Linked DNA regions of Homo sapiens: all the other regions are linked to region 1. Evidence: promoter capture Hi-C in human tissues and cell types (Jung and others, 2019). All regions are on one chromosome and are shown on one strand. Each heading gives the region's core, a stretch centred on a gene start or on the middle of the fragment in contact. The rest is flanking DNA. Distances are from core to core; before and after follow the strand shown. Region 1 holds the start of SYT1 (synaptotagmin 1). Region 2 has its middle 55 kb from the start of SYT1. Region 3 overlaps SYT1 (synaptotagmin 1). Region 4 has its middle 38 kb from the start of SYT1.

Region 1 (3,040 bases), core at 541-3,040:
AATTAGAGACTGCTGAAGCTGCTGTAAAGGCTCTGTCCAACAAGTACCATTTACTTGACCTATTATGCAGGCAGCCAGGGGCATGTTGGTGTTTTGATATATTTTTCTTTCTTTTAACAAGACGTTACAAAAATGTTTTCCCCTTCAGGATTTTTAAAATTTAGGGTATCTTTCTAGCATTACTTTCTAAACTTAGTTCCAGTACAGGAGGATTCTTGTCCAACTGAGCCTCCATGTGCCTTCTAAAGGGAGTGCTGAAATTGTATAAACATCATGTTTACATCCATTAAATATTGTCCTATTAAAAGAAAATAAAGCCAGGCATAAGTTTGGTATCCAGACAATAAAATGCAAATAGTACAAAGGTAGAATAAAGTGAAAATTCTACACAAATGTAGCTTCCATACAAAAGTTAAACAGTTGCTTTATTTCACGAAAGGGTTAATACTGGAGAAAGTGAATATCAACATGTACACAAAGCTAACTAGAAGATTAGCTTTCTCAAAGTAGAAATCCAAGCCTCCCTATAAAATTGTTGTCCCTTGCAAATGTTTTGAAACTTTACATTTTTTGATCCCCCAACAACAGGCCATACCAAGAAACCTCAGGAAAGTAATAATCTATTTTAATTGTTTTTTTTTTTTTGTTACTCAAGAAAGCTTTCAAAGTTCAGATATTAACACTGATGTGCAATACCAAATTGTTAGCCCCACAGGACAGATGGAAACAGGAAAAGTCAGATGGTTGGCACTCAAAAGCAAAAGCAATTAAGCAGTTGAAAGTGGGTTGGATTGTCGGTTTATTTTTGTTCCATTTGAACGAATCAAGTGAGAGACATAGACTCTTGCAAGGAGGAAATCAAGTCAAACTTGACGCTTCCTCTCTCTGACAGCCCAAGCTGGACTGGTTGTCTACTCCCCTTATTCAGTTTAATTGCTTTATGTGCTCTGATTTTCGCAGAGCTTGTATTCTATCTTGTTTACGTTCCCCCCCCCCCCCATATCCCTCTCCCCAACAGAAAGAAATCTTTCTCCTTTCTTCACTCCCCCTCTTTCCTCTAAGAAAGGCAATCCTCTCCAGGAGGAGAAAGAAACGCTGTGCGTGCTTAGGGTGGGAGGAGGGCGAGAGGGGAGGTGTGGGAGAGAAAGAGAGAAAAGATTGAGATTGGGGGTGGGGGACGGAGGAGAGAGAACAAGAGAAGGAAAGAGGAAGCAAGAAGATGGGGGATGCCCAACATCAACTCCAGGCTCTAAATCACGGGCGCTGTGCAAAGTGCTTTTCCAGGAGATGCACATGTAGTCTCATATTTCTCACAATAGGCCACCCGGGGATCCCTCCCTAGGTCTCAGACTCCCACCACTAAAACCCAAGTGTATCGAGAAGAAAATCTTTGGGATGGATTCGAGCAGATAGGCACCGCCGAGGTGGCCGCGCCGCCAGTCCCGCTTCCTTACCTGGAGGGCGGACCGGGAGGTGGTGCCGGGTCTCGGTCCCCAGTGCTCTCCCCGCGTGGACCGGCGCGAGGCACACGCGTACTCTCGCTGCCTCCGCTCTTGGAGGGGCAGCCTGCAACACAAAAGGGGTGTGTGGGTGTGGGTGTGTGGGAGGTTTTCCAGGGCCACCAGCTGGTCCCACGTGGTCGCCCCCACCCTACACACACCCCTTCGGGGCGCCAAGCCCCCCTCTCGGCTGAGCACCACCCTGGGGACTTGCCCGGGGTGCAGCCTCAAGTTGCCGCTGCTAACTGCTGCTGCCGCTGCCGCTGCTGCAGGAGGAGGTGGAAAGACACTGGGGGCAGTACTCGGTCTAGAGCATCCCCACACTGCAGCTTCTCCAGGAATCCCTCCAGTGAGGAGGCGGCCGCCCATCATCTCCGAGCCCCAGCATCCTGATTGGCTCCACCTCGGGTACGCTGCGCCAAGGAGCCAATCCCCGCGCACTAATAATAGGTGGATCCGTTCAGCCAACATCGCCCATCCCAGTTCTGTTAGTGTCTCTCCATCCCCACAGCGGACAGGGACCTGGGAAGCGGGGTGGAGGCGGGTTGGGGGAGGGGGTGAAGTAAGAGGGGAACAGATCCCAAGGAGACACAATCAAGGGCGTCTGATAAAACCTCTAGGTAGACTCAGGAATGCCCCACAAGCTGTTCAGCAAGCAGTATGCACAGGAGAAAGAGAGCATAATACAAAGCTTTTTTTTTTTTTTTTTTACTCTCAATCAAAACCTACCCTGATACTGAGCATGCCCAGACTGCAACAGCGACCTAGGAGTTTCGATGTGTGTGGGTTCGCCAGCTGTGGGTTTTTGAAAAGCTGGGACCGGGGACAGGAGAGGTAGAAGTTTGTCTTTGGCCATTTAACCCGGCGGAGTTGTGAAAGCTGGGTAGGGTGGGGATGTGAAAGGGTTCCGCACAAGTGTCCTCAAACTGAGCCGCGGGGAGGTGGCCCACCTGGCTGCCGGAGGCTCATCATGCTGTTCTTCTGGGGTTCCGGGTTGGAAGCGGGGGCGGGATAAGCTGAGCTTTGCTGGAAGCCTGGGGACTTCCCGCGAAGGGTGCGGTGGAGCCGAGATGCGGGAGAAGCAGCTCCGTCCCATAGGTGGGGCCGGGAGCGCGACTCCACCCATCAGCGGCGGCTGCCAGGCCGTGGAGAGTGCACTGGGAGTTTCCATTGCAGCGACCAATAAGTTTGTACACTTGGGTCAAGTGCAACATTGTTGGAGATGCTTTTTTATTTTTTCATTTTTATTTTTTGCCACCTCCCTCCCCCATCTCTCTCGACCCCTTGCCAGAGCAGTGACGACTAAAGCATAGATTCTCTCCCTGCTTCCTCTCTTCCCAGCTGAACCGTTCTGCTCGGAAGTAAGAAGCTTTTCTCTTGTGAGGGCGGTGGTGACCTGATTGTCTCTAAGCTCTCAGGCAATTTATAGCTTGGTAATACCGAAATACCGAACAGGAAGGCTCAGCGGGTGGGGGAAGGGACCGCGCGCCAGGCTAGGGGCGGGAGCGGAGCCCAGCTGGGAGAGGGGCCCGTCCATTATC
Region 2 (3,040 bases), core at 267-2,766, 55 kb after region 1:
AATAGCTTCTCTACAAATTTTTAAAAATTTTATTATACCTTAAGTTCTGGGATACTTGTGCAGAATGCGCATGTTTGTTACATAGGTAAACGTGTGCCATGGTGGTTTGCTGCACAGATCAACCCATCACCTAGGTATTAAGCCCCTCATGCATTAGCTATGTATCCTGATGCCCTTCCTCCCCCGCCCCCCATGACAGGCCCCAGTGTGTGTTTTTCCCCTCCCTGTGTCCATGTGTTCTTATTGCTCAGCTCCCACTTGTGAGAACGTTAACCATTGTATTTTTTATTTTCTCTTTGTCCCCTATGTTTATTTATTCTTCTACTAAAATAGTTTCTGTATTTTTTAATGTTTAAGTCAGTTTTTATTAGCTCTGATACTCGAAAATCAATTTATCCAAAAGAAAATGCTTTGCTTAGACTATTTTTTCCCAGTAACTTAAAAATATTGCTCCACACAATATTGGAAATTTTGATGCCAATTATTTTTCTTTAAAAAATGATTTGGTTGGCCTTTGTGTTTTTTGTTGTTATTTTTGTTCATTTTTTGTATAGAAGAACAGATTTTCTAAAAATTCTACTGTGATATGTTTTGGACTTGACCCTTCCGGGTTAATTTTTCTAATTACAAAGATGGACCTCTTTAGTGGAAAAATTAGGTGCTTTTTTTTGTTGTTGTTGTTGTTTTTGAGACAGTCTCGCTCTCTTGCCCAGGCTGGAGTGCAGTGGAGCGATCTCGGCTCACTGCAAGCTCCGCCTCCCGGGTTCACGCCATTCTCCTGCCTCAGCCTCCTGAGTAGCTGGGACTACAGGCGCCCACCACCACGACGGGCTAATTTTTTGTATTTTTAGTAGAGACGGGGTTTCACCATTTCAGAACATTTAAAAACGTTTAGCTTTTTTGTACTATTTTGTTTTATTTTTACATATTCAAATTCCAATTATAGGTATGTTAGATCTCCCGTGCCTGCCTTCCAGATCTATATCTTTTATTCATATTTTAATCTATATTTTCAAATTTTATTTTTGCTGTTTTTTGCATGTATCATCTCTATCACTGTACATTCAATCATGTTGATTCTCCCATGACCATTTATTATTTTAATATTCACTTCAGATTTGACTTTTTATTTTTCTTCAATTAATCTGGTAAATAATGTATTTTTCATTTCTACTTTCAGAATTTCTACTTAAAATTCAGTAGTTTGAATTTCTACTTCATTGTGGTGTATCTTATCTCTAACAATTGATTCAATTAAGTTTAATTTATGTTGATGTTGTGTATCAGTTTTCCTCTGATTCATGGTTGGCATGTTTTGGGAGTGTTGCTTCAGCTAAAAAGTTTTGATTCCTACTATATCTTTTCTTCTCATAACAGCTTTCTATGAATAATGTGCTCCTTTTACTGTTGCTGATAAACTTTATAACATTCCCCTGGAGCAGCAATTATAGATAATTCTACAGAGGGAAGATAAAAATGTTTGGGTGGCCAGACGAGGTGGCTCACGCCTTTAATCCCAGTACTGTGGGAGGCCAAGGACGGAGGATTGCCTGAGGTCAGGAGTTTGAGACCAGTCTGGCCAACATGGTGAAACCGGTCTCTACTAAAAATACAAAAAAATTAGCTGGGCATGGTGGCGTGCTCCTGTAATTCCAGCTACTTGGGAGGCTGAGGCAGGGGAATTGGCTGAACCAGGGAGGTAGAGGTGGCAGTGATCTGAGATCACAGCACTGCACTCCAGCCTGGGTGACAGAGCAAGACTCCATCTCAAAACAAACAAACAAACAAACAAAAAAGTGTTTGGGTTATTTTGTCTATTAGTTCAAGATTAGCTTCTTCACAGTAAGAACAGTTTGTTTAAGCAGTTGTGTTGGGAGAAGTTTGGTTTTATTTTATTTTATTTTACCCAGTAAACGTATTTATTTGCCTGTGAGTATATCAGCTATTTGCAGACAATTTGGAAAGACCAGGATGGCTCTGAAGAGCTGAAATGAGCTCTAGGATGAATATTTGGAGTTACCAGAAAACCACAGGAATTCCCTTTTCACTTCCTAAAATCAGAAAAGGTTTTGCCTTCACCCCCACCCCTACCAAAGACCATTAGGAGGAGAGCCTTTTTAGAATATAATTCATCAGTCCAGAAAGTTTAGAAAAAAAGTGGTGTGAAAACACTGCCTAAATTTAGTTATTTTCACCTGTTTTACTCAAATTCTCAAATGCATACGGCTCCACATTTTACTCCTGATAAACTCCTGACTGGTGCTCTAAATCATGGCCGGTGTGGGGGCACACATTTGTTCTCTCCAAGGCAATGGCAGAAACTTAATCCCAAGAGTTATTTTCTACTTTACCTTTCTACAACATTGCCATGCCCCATGCTAAAAATTTTATTCTCTGCCCTTCCTCCCCATCCCCTGACACGAAACACATACACTAGTTCAAAACAGAACCCCATAAGCTTTGTGAGGTTTTCTCTATTTTGAGTGTTTTCCATTTTTCATACAACATTGATCTTGTGGGAGGGAGTCAGCCAATGTTCCAGCACTAAAATGTTGTTCTTACAAAATGAAGACTTTAAGTCCCAGTAACTTTTATGAAGGACTATTACAACTAGAATAATTCTTAAGTCTTTGTGAAAATAAGTTATTAGGAATTGTTTCAGTAGAAAGTAATTCATGATAGAGGAGATTTTTATAAATTCTGTAATTTCATCTTGGTGATAATTTCAGATTTTTAAAAAGTTGCTTATTTTACCAACATATTTGCTTTACTAAACAATCTTAACAACTATACTATAAATTGTACTTTTCTTTAAAAGAATAAATTATGGACTGAAGTTTTAAAGGTACAATTAGAGGCAGGAAAAAACAATGCTTTCCAGAAGATTTGCAATTAGTAAATTCTGTTTTCACTGAGACACAAAATGAATTTGAAAGCAACTGAATTTACTTTTTACATAAATCTTGTGTAACAAGAGATATTAAATTTGGATCAAAATTTTAGGCAGGAATATATCAGTCAACAGAGAAACCAAAAAGAC
Region 3 (3,040 bases), core at 250-2,749, 41 kb before region 1:
TAAATTCCCTGTCTAAACACACTTTGCCATAAATGTACACTTTAATAAATACAACATGAAAATCTTATCTTTAAATAATTTACATCAAAAGTTATAGCAGTAGGTATTATTAAAGTGCCAGAATTAAGCTTTTCATGTGCGGTTATGAAGTCTTAATTTTCTTTGTATGCACAAGATATAGCATAACGTTTGACACAGTAGGCACTAAAATAAATGTTTTGGTGATGAGATGTTAACCTGAAAATGACAGAATGATCAATACGGCCTAGGGATACCGTGGTGCTCTAGCAGAGTAAAGATAGAGCCCAGAACACTGCTTCTTCCTGGCAGGACTCTGGTCATTTCTTACACCAGGACAGACACCCCCAGTCTGTCCACGACCTGCATCAAGACAGGCAGAATGAATCCTCTGTTTACTCTAATTTCCACAAGAGGCCAGGACTTCCAGTGTATCCCTCACAACTTGAATGCTGTCGCATGAATTTGTGGCCCACAGACAACTCATGTATTTACTGCTGTTACGGCCTTTTTCCCTTTCTTTTCTCTATAGAATTTTAGAGTCTGACATACTAAATATTTTACAACTTAGTACATCTATCTGCTTCTCTCTATTATCCCATAAACTAAATGAAGGTTGGTATCTTTTTCTGTTCTGGGCACTGCTATATCTTCAGCCCTTAGAATCAGGTACTTGGCAGGTACTCACCAGTATTTGTTAAATACTTGAATGAACTTCCACTTGTCATGAGGAAATACATTTTTCCCTCAGAACATCTTCCTACTTTTTGAATACATACACAAAAGCCTACAATAAAATCAATCACCAGAACTTAATATTTGATTTCATTTTGTTTTTTTTTCTATTTCAAGACTTTCTTAATGTTATAGAAAATAATTCAATAAATCATCTTCTATTGAAAGGAACCTCTTTTATAATTGTACTTTCTAAATACACAAATTTCTTTATATTTATATATTCCATATCTTTATTTACTGGCTTGATTGGAGTATGCTAAAAATAGTGCTTTTATTTCTTCAGATTCCTTGAAATATACTGACAAGGAGACTTACTTCTAAATTACAAATATAATTTTGATGTTACTTCGGTGAAGGGAAAACTCATCAGTGTTTATGAAATATGAGAAGCCCTTTGGGGGAAAAAACTTCCTTGATGCTGCAGCACATATAATTAGAGTAATTTTTCTCCATATTAGAGTTTTAAATAGATTTTACATTATTTACAACACTTTTAATAGCCTTGTAATGTGCTGTAATTTAAAAAAAAATTAAAAAGGTCAAAAAACTCTATCTTTACTTTTCCTAGGTCATTTCCCTTAAAAGGAATAATAGTCCAATGTTCAGGTATTTAGGTTTATTTTATTGAAACTGAAATAAAATGAAAATAAACAACAGTAAGAAAATCAAAATCCAATATATTGTAGATGCCATGTAATAAAAGGTTAGGGGAGAAGAATAGATGGTTTACCTTTCTCCCAACCATTCCTGCTTAAGGAATTTTAGTAAACATAAATTGTATGACTTTGAAGGAAACATTGAATGTAAAGCTGATATTAGTGAGTGTTCAAGACAATTTAGCTATTACTATTACAACTGTTTTCCTTCAATTACCACCGGGACACCACTGTCAACATACAAGTTAGATAATTTGGATAGGGAGAGTTTCCAATTCTCCATGAAATTGGTGGATTCTTACTCCTAAAGCTGATCTTAATGGCAAAACCCATTGTATGTTATGTGGAAGTGTGTAGGTAAGTCAGTTCCCGCCCCCCGCGGGATTTCTGTACTTCTACTAAGAAGGAACTATGGGCTGGCCCCAGATAATTAATCTCTTTAAAATCATGGCAACATGTTACTAAAGAAAGATGATAAACTTTTCTGGCCCACAGAAAACAGGAAGACATTTCTCAAGATTAGAATGGTCCTGGAACAAAAAATTGCCTTACCAAGTAATCAGTGCCTACTATTGGATGTATTCAGGTAAGAACAATAACAACAAAAAAGCTACAGTTTTATGAGATATCTTAGGAGATTGCTTAATTCATATTTGGCCTTCTTATTATAAGATGATTAAATACAATGATAATTGAGACTCAAGATAGGACAATATTACAAACTATTAAATGGATTTAAGTGAAAGTTGATTCTATTTAAACTTTGAAATCTTTTACCAAAAAAATAAAATCTCTTCTAAAACATTTAGTTCTATTATGCCTAATTGCCAATGACAATTATATATATAATTTGATCTTTCAGGTTAAAATTGTATGTATGTTATTAGAACACTAAGAATGTCCACTTGTGTATTTTTATGTTGTATAGACTATGGCTCATATAATATTACTCATGTAATGGAGCAGATTTTGCATCATTTTTGAACAATGGAATATGTATCTCTTCCCTTCAAATGTCAAATAACATTATCTTGCAGCACTTTTCTTTTTAAAAGTTTTCCATATAAAGATAGTTTTTCTGTGTTTCAGGTTGACTTACGTATCATGAGCTACTCTAGAATTAATGAGTTTCATCCTTGGGCAGAGTTAGGTCGAGATACTCGAAAACTGGTGAATAGAGGTTATGATGTTTTATACATCCATGTTCTCCAAAGATCCAGTACATTATTTTTTTCCAGAGTAGGTGCTCATTGAATACTTACTAAAAAATTCAAATTTTATATTTTTACACGTTAATAGTGTCTCTCTTCAATGTATCTAAGCTTTCCATTAGCTTTCCAATGGATAAATCACATGTAACTTAATATAGAAGTATCATAAGGCTAAGTCATATGCAGATCATGACCAATTTAAAATCTCACAAATATTTATAGGAAAACATTGTCTATAAAAATATAAATTCAAATTCAATACACACTAGTGTTTCCAGTTTGTTTTTTAAATTGTAACATTTCACTATAAAAACAAAAATTAGTAAATTTGGTTTATGACTAAATTTTGGTTACCGGGGATTCTAATAACTGTTATGATATATAGCTGTTTAAATTATTATTTTTCTTACTGAATAC
Region 4 (3,040 bases), core at 334-2,833, 38 kb after region 1:
AAGAGCCAAATCAAGAACACAATCCCAGTGACAATTGTCATAAAAAGAGTAAAATACCTAGGAATACAGTTAACCAGGGAAGTGAAAGATCCCTACAAGAAAAATTACAAAACACTGTTCAAAGAAATCAGAGATGACACAAAAAGCAGACAAACATTTCATGCTCATGAATAGGAAGACTCAATATTGTTACAATGGCTATACTGCCCAAAGCAACTTACAGATTCAGTGCTATTCCTATCAAACTACCAATGACATTTTCTTCACAGAATTAGAAAAAATTATTTTAAAATACAAATGGAACCAAAAAAGAGCCCAAATAGCCTAGGTAATCAAAAGAACAAAGCTGGAGGCATTATGTTACCCAACTTCAAACTGTACTACAGGGCTACAGTAACCCAAACAGCAAGGTACTGGTATAAAAATAGACACATAGACTAACAAAACAGAATAGAGAACCCAGAAATAATGCCATACACCTACAACCATCTGATCTTTGACAAAGCTTACAAAAACAAGCAGTGGGGAAAAGGCCCCATATGCAAAAAATAGCACTGGGATAACTGGGTAACTATATGCAGAAGATTGAAACTGGACCCCTTCTTACACCATCTATGAAAATCAACTCAAGATGGATTAAAGATTAAATGTAAAACCCATCACTATACAAACCCTGGAAGATAACCTAGGCAATACCATTTATGGCATAGGAACTGGCAAAGATTTCATGATCAATGCACCAAAAGTAACTGCAACAAAAGCAAAAATTGACAAATTGGATCTAATTAAACTAAAGAGCTTCTGCACAGCAAAGAAACTACCAAGAGAGTAAACAGTCTACAGAAGGGAAAAATATAGTTGCAAACTATGTATCTGACAAAGATCTAATATCCAGCATTTACAAAGAACTTAAATTTACAAACAGCAATGAAAATCCCATTAAAAAGTGGGCAAAGGACAAGAACAGACACTTTTTAAAATAAGGCCTACATGCGGCCAACAAGTATATAAAAATGCTTAATATCACTGATAATTAGAGAAATGGAATCAAAACCACAATGAGATACCATCTCAACCTGTCAGAATGGCTATTACTAAAGTAAAAAAATAACAGATGCTGATGAGGTTGTGGAGAAAAAGGAACACTTATACACTGCTGGTGGAAGTGTAAATTAGTTCAACTATTGTGGAAAGCAGTGTGGTGATTCCTTTTAAGAACTGAAAACAGAACTACCATTCAATCTAGCAATCTAATTACTGGGTATATACCCAAAGGAATATAAATTGTCCTACCATAAAGACACCTACATGTGTATGTTTACTGCAGCACTATTCACAATAGCAAAAACATAGAATCAACCTGAATGTCCATCAATGGCAAACTGGATAAAGAAAATATGGTACATATGTAAGATGGAATATTGTGCAGCCATAAAAAAAGAACAAGATCATGTTCTTTGCAGGAACATGTTTGGAGCTGGAGGCCATTATCCTTAGCAAGCAACCACAGGAACAGAATACCAAATATAACATGTTCTCACTTATAAGTGGGAGCTAGACATAGAGTACCTATGGACACAAAGAAGGGAATAACAGATACCAGGGCATAGCTGAGAGTCAAGGGTAGGAGGAGGAATAGGATCAGAAAAAATCACTGTTGGGTACTAGGCTTAGTACCTGGGTGATGCAATAATCTGTACACCAAACTCCCATGACACAAGTTTACCTATATGACAAACGATACATGAACCCCTGAACCTAAAACAAAATTTTAAAAAAGAAGCAACACTCTCAAATATTTATAGCACATGTGATTAGATGGAGATGCCATGAGTTTTATTTTTCATATATTCTAATTTTTTATAATTATTATTTATCACTTGTCAGAAAAATGAAGTAAAAAGGAGGGAAAAGAGAAAATAAATACACTAGAAATCAAGTATTATAGACAGGTATTTCTTGATGTTTTCTGAGTATTCACTATGTGTGGGTGTTGTTTGAAGTGCGTTAGTCAAATGAAATTGCCTAATTCTCATAATTAGCCAATGAAATCATTATTATTATCTTCCAAGGTTACACCGCAAATAAATGGCATATCTGGAATTTGAAGCTTGGTCTAACTCAGAATCTGTAGTCTTAACTTCCAGTTAAGGATAAGGAAGGGAGTAACAGCTTCTGAAATTAAAAAAAAATTCATTCATAAATTCAAACAGTATTTAATTAATTTAAAAAGTGTAATATTTGTTAGCTATTTGAAATGGCTCATTTTGGGTTTAGTCAAACATATAGAGAAAAATGAATATTTGTATAAAAATTAGCAAGTTACTAATGGAATGTAAATTGGTGAGCTACAGGATATATATTATGCTAGAGATGATTATTGTGTCCTGGTGACATGTCAAGCCACTCCAGACAAAAAGTGGCCTTAATAAATCAGAATTTCATACACATGGAATCCTTCTGAGTTTTACTTCATTTGTTTAAACCTACAGATATAAAATGTTACCAGGGCTTTGTGTCTAGATGCCATTTTGATGTGGTCTAAAATGCTTTTCTCTCTGTTTAATTTAATGATATACACACATTCCATAAAAATTAATAAAATACCTGCAACTCTAATATTATGTGGTGGGAAGAACATGGGCTTTGGAATCCTTGGAATTAAATTTGTTTGGGTTTGAATTTCAAATTAAAATTTTACTCTAAGTTTGTATTCATAAAGCATATCATTTGGATATATGATGTTTTAATGAAAGTCCAAGTGAAAACTTCTAGTATTTCCGTAATGTTCAGAATATAGGCATTTGCAATTCCATAGAGCCAAATAACTCAATTGTTATTTTCAAAATTAAGAATCTTGGGTATTTATTATTTATTAGTTCTAACAAAAAGGTTATATGACTATAAGAGTGATCAAAGTCACAGCTGACACTTGAAAATGCCTTTACACAGCAATATACCTGATTCTGTTCTCAGTGAAAAAAGTTCAGGAAATTTAATTTAGGATGCCAGGTGGCACAATAGGTTATACATTAACTTG

What was found. The method cuts DNA at HindIII sites, captures the fragments that hold promoters and counts their contacts. A contact is called where the count stands out against the background at its distance.
Region 2: a fragment that was not itself captured here is called in contact with the fragment with the promoter of SYT1 in region 1 in 2 of the 25 tissues and cell types used here (pancreas and spleen).
Region 3: a fragment that was not itself captured here is called in contact with the fragment with the promoter of SYT1 in region 1 in 6 of the 25 tissues and cell types used here (adrenal gland, dorsolateral prefrontal cortex, hippocampus and 3 more).
Region 4: a fragment that was not itself captured here is called in contact with the fragment with the promoter of SYT1 in region 1 in 4 of the 25 tissues and cell types used here (dorsolateral prefrontal cortex, mesenchymal stem cells, spleen and 1 more).

The regions. Positions count from the first base shown.
Region 1 is chr12:78,863,524-78,866,563 of GRCh38, reverse strand. SYT1 (synaptotagmin 1) reads right to left here and starts at 1,790. Exons shown (of 11, transcript NM_005639.3): 1 at 1,455-1,790. RefSeq lists a silencer at 2,947-3,006. The HindIII fragment of the contact is 3,235 bases long and covers 1,426-3,040 here.
Region 2 is chr12:78,808,645-78,811,684 of GRCh38, reverse strand. No RefSeq gene overlaps it. Among named protein-coding and RNA genes, the nearest start is that of SYT1, 55 kb to the left of the region's middle. The HindIII fragment of the contact is 3,928 bases long and covers 1-3,040 here.
Region 3 is chr12:78,904,024-78,907,063 of GRCh38, reverse strand. All of the region lies in intron 1 of SYT1 (synaptotagmin 1), which reads right to left. It overlaps LOC105369863 (a long non-coding RNA gene), which reads left to right. Exons shown (of 7, transcript XR_007063385.1): 7 at 1,908-2,040. Among named protein-coding and RNA genes, the nearest start is that of SYT1, 41 kb to the right of the region's middle. The HindIII fragment of the contact is 5,273 bases long and covers 1-3,040 here.
Region 4 is chr12:78,825,150-78,828,189 of GRCh38, reverse strand. No RefSeq gene overlaps it. Among named protein-coding and RNA genes, the nearest start is that of SYT1, 38 kb to the left of the region's middle. The HindIII fragment of the contact is 4,062 bases long and covers 1-3,040 here.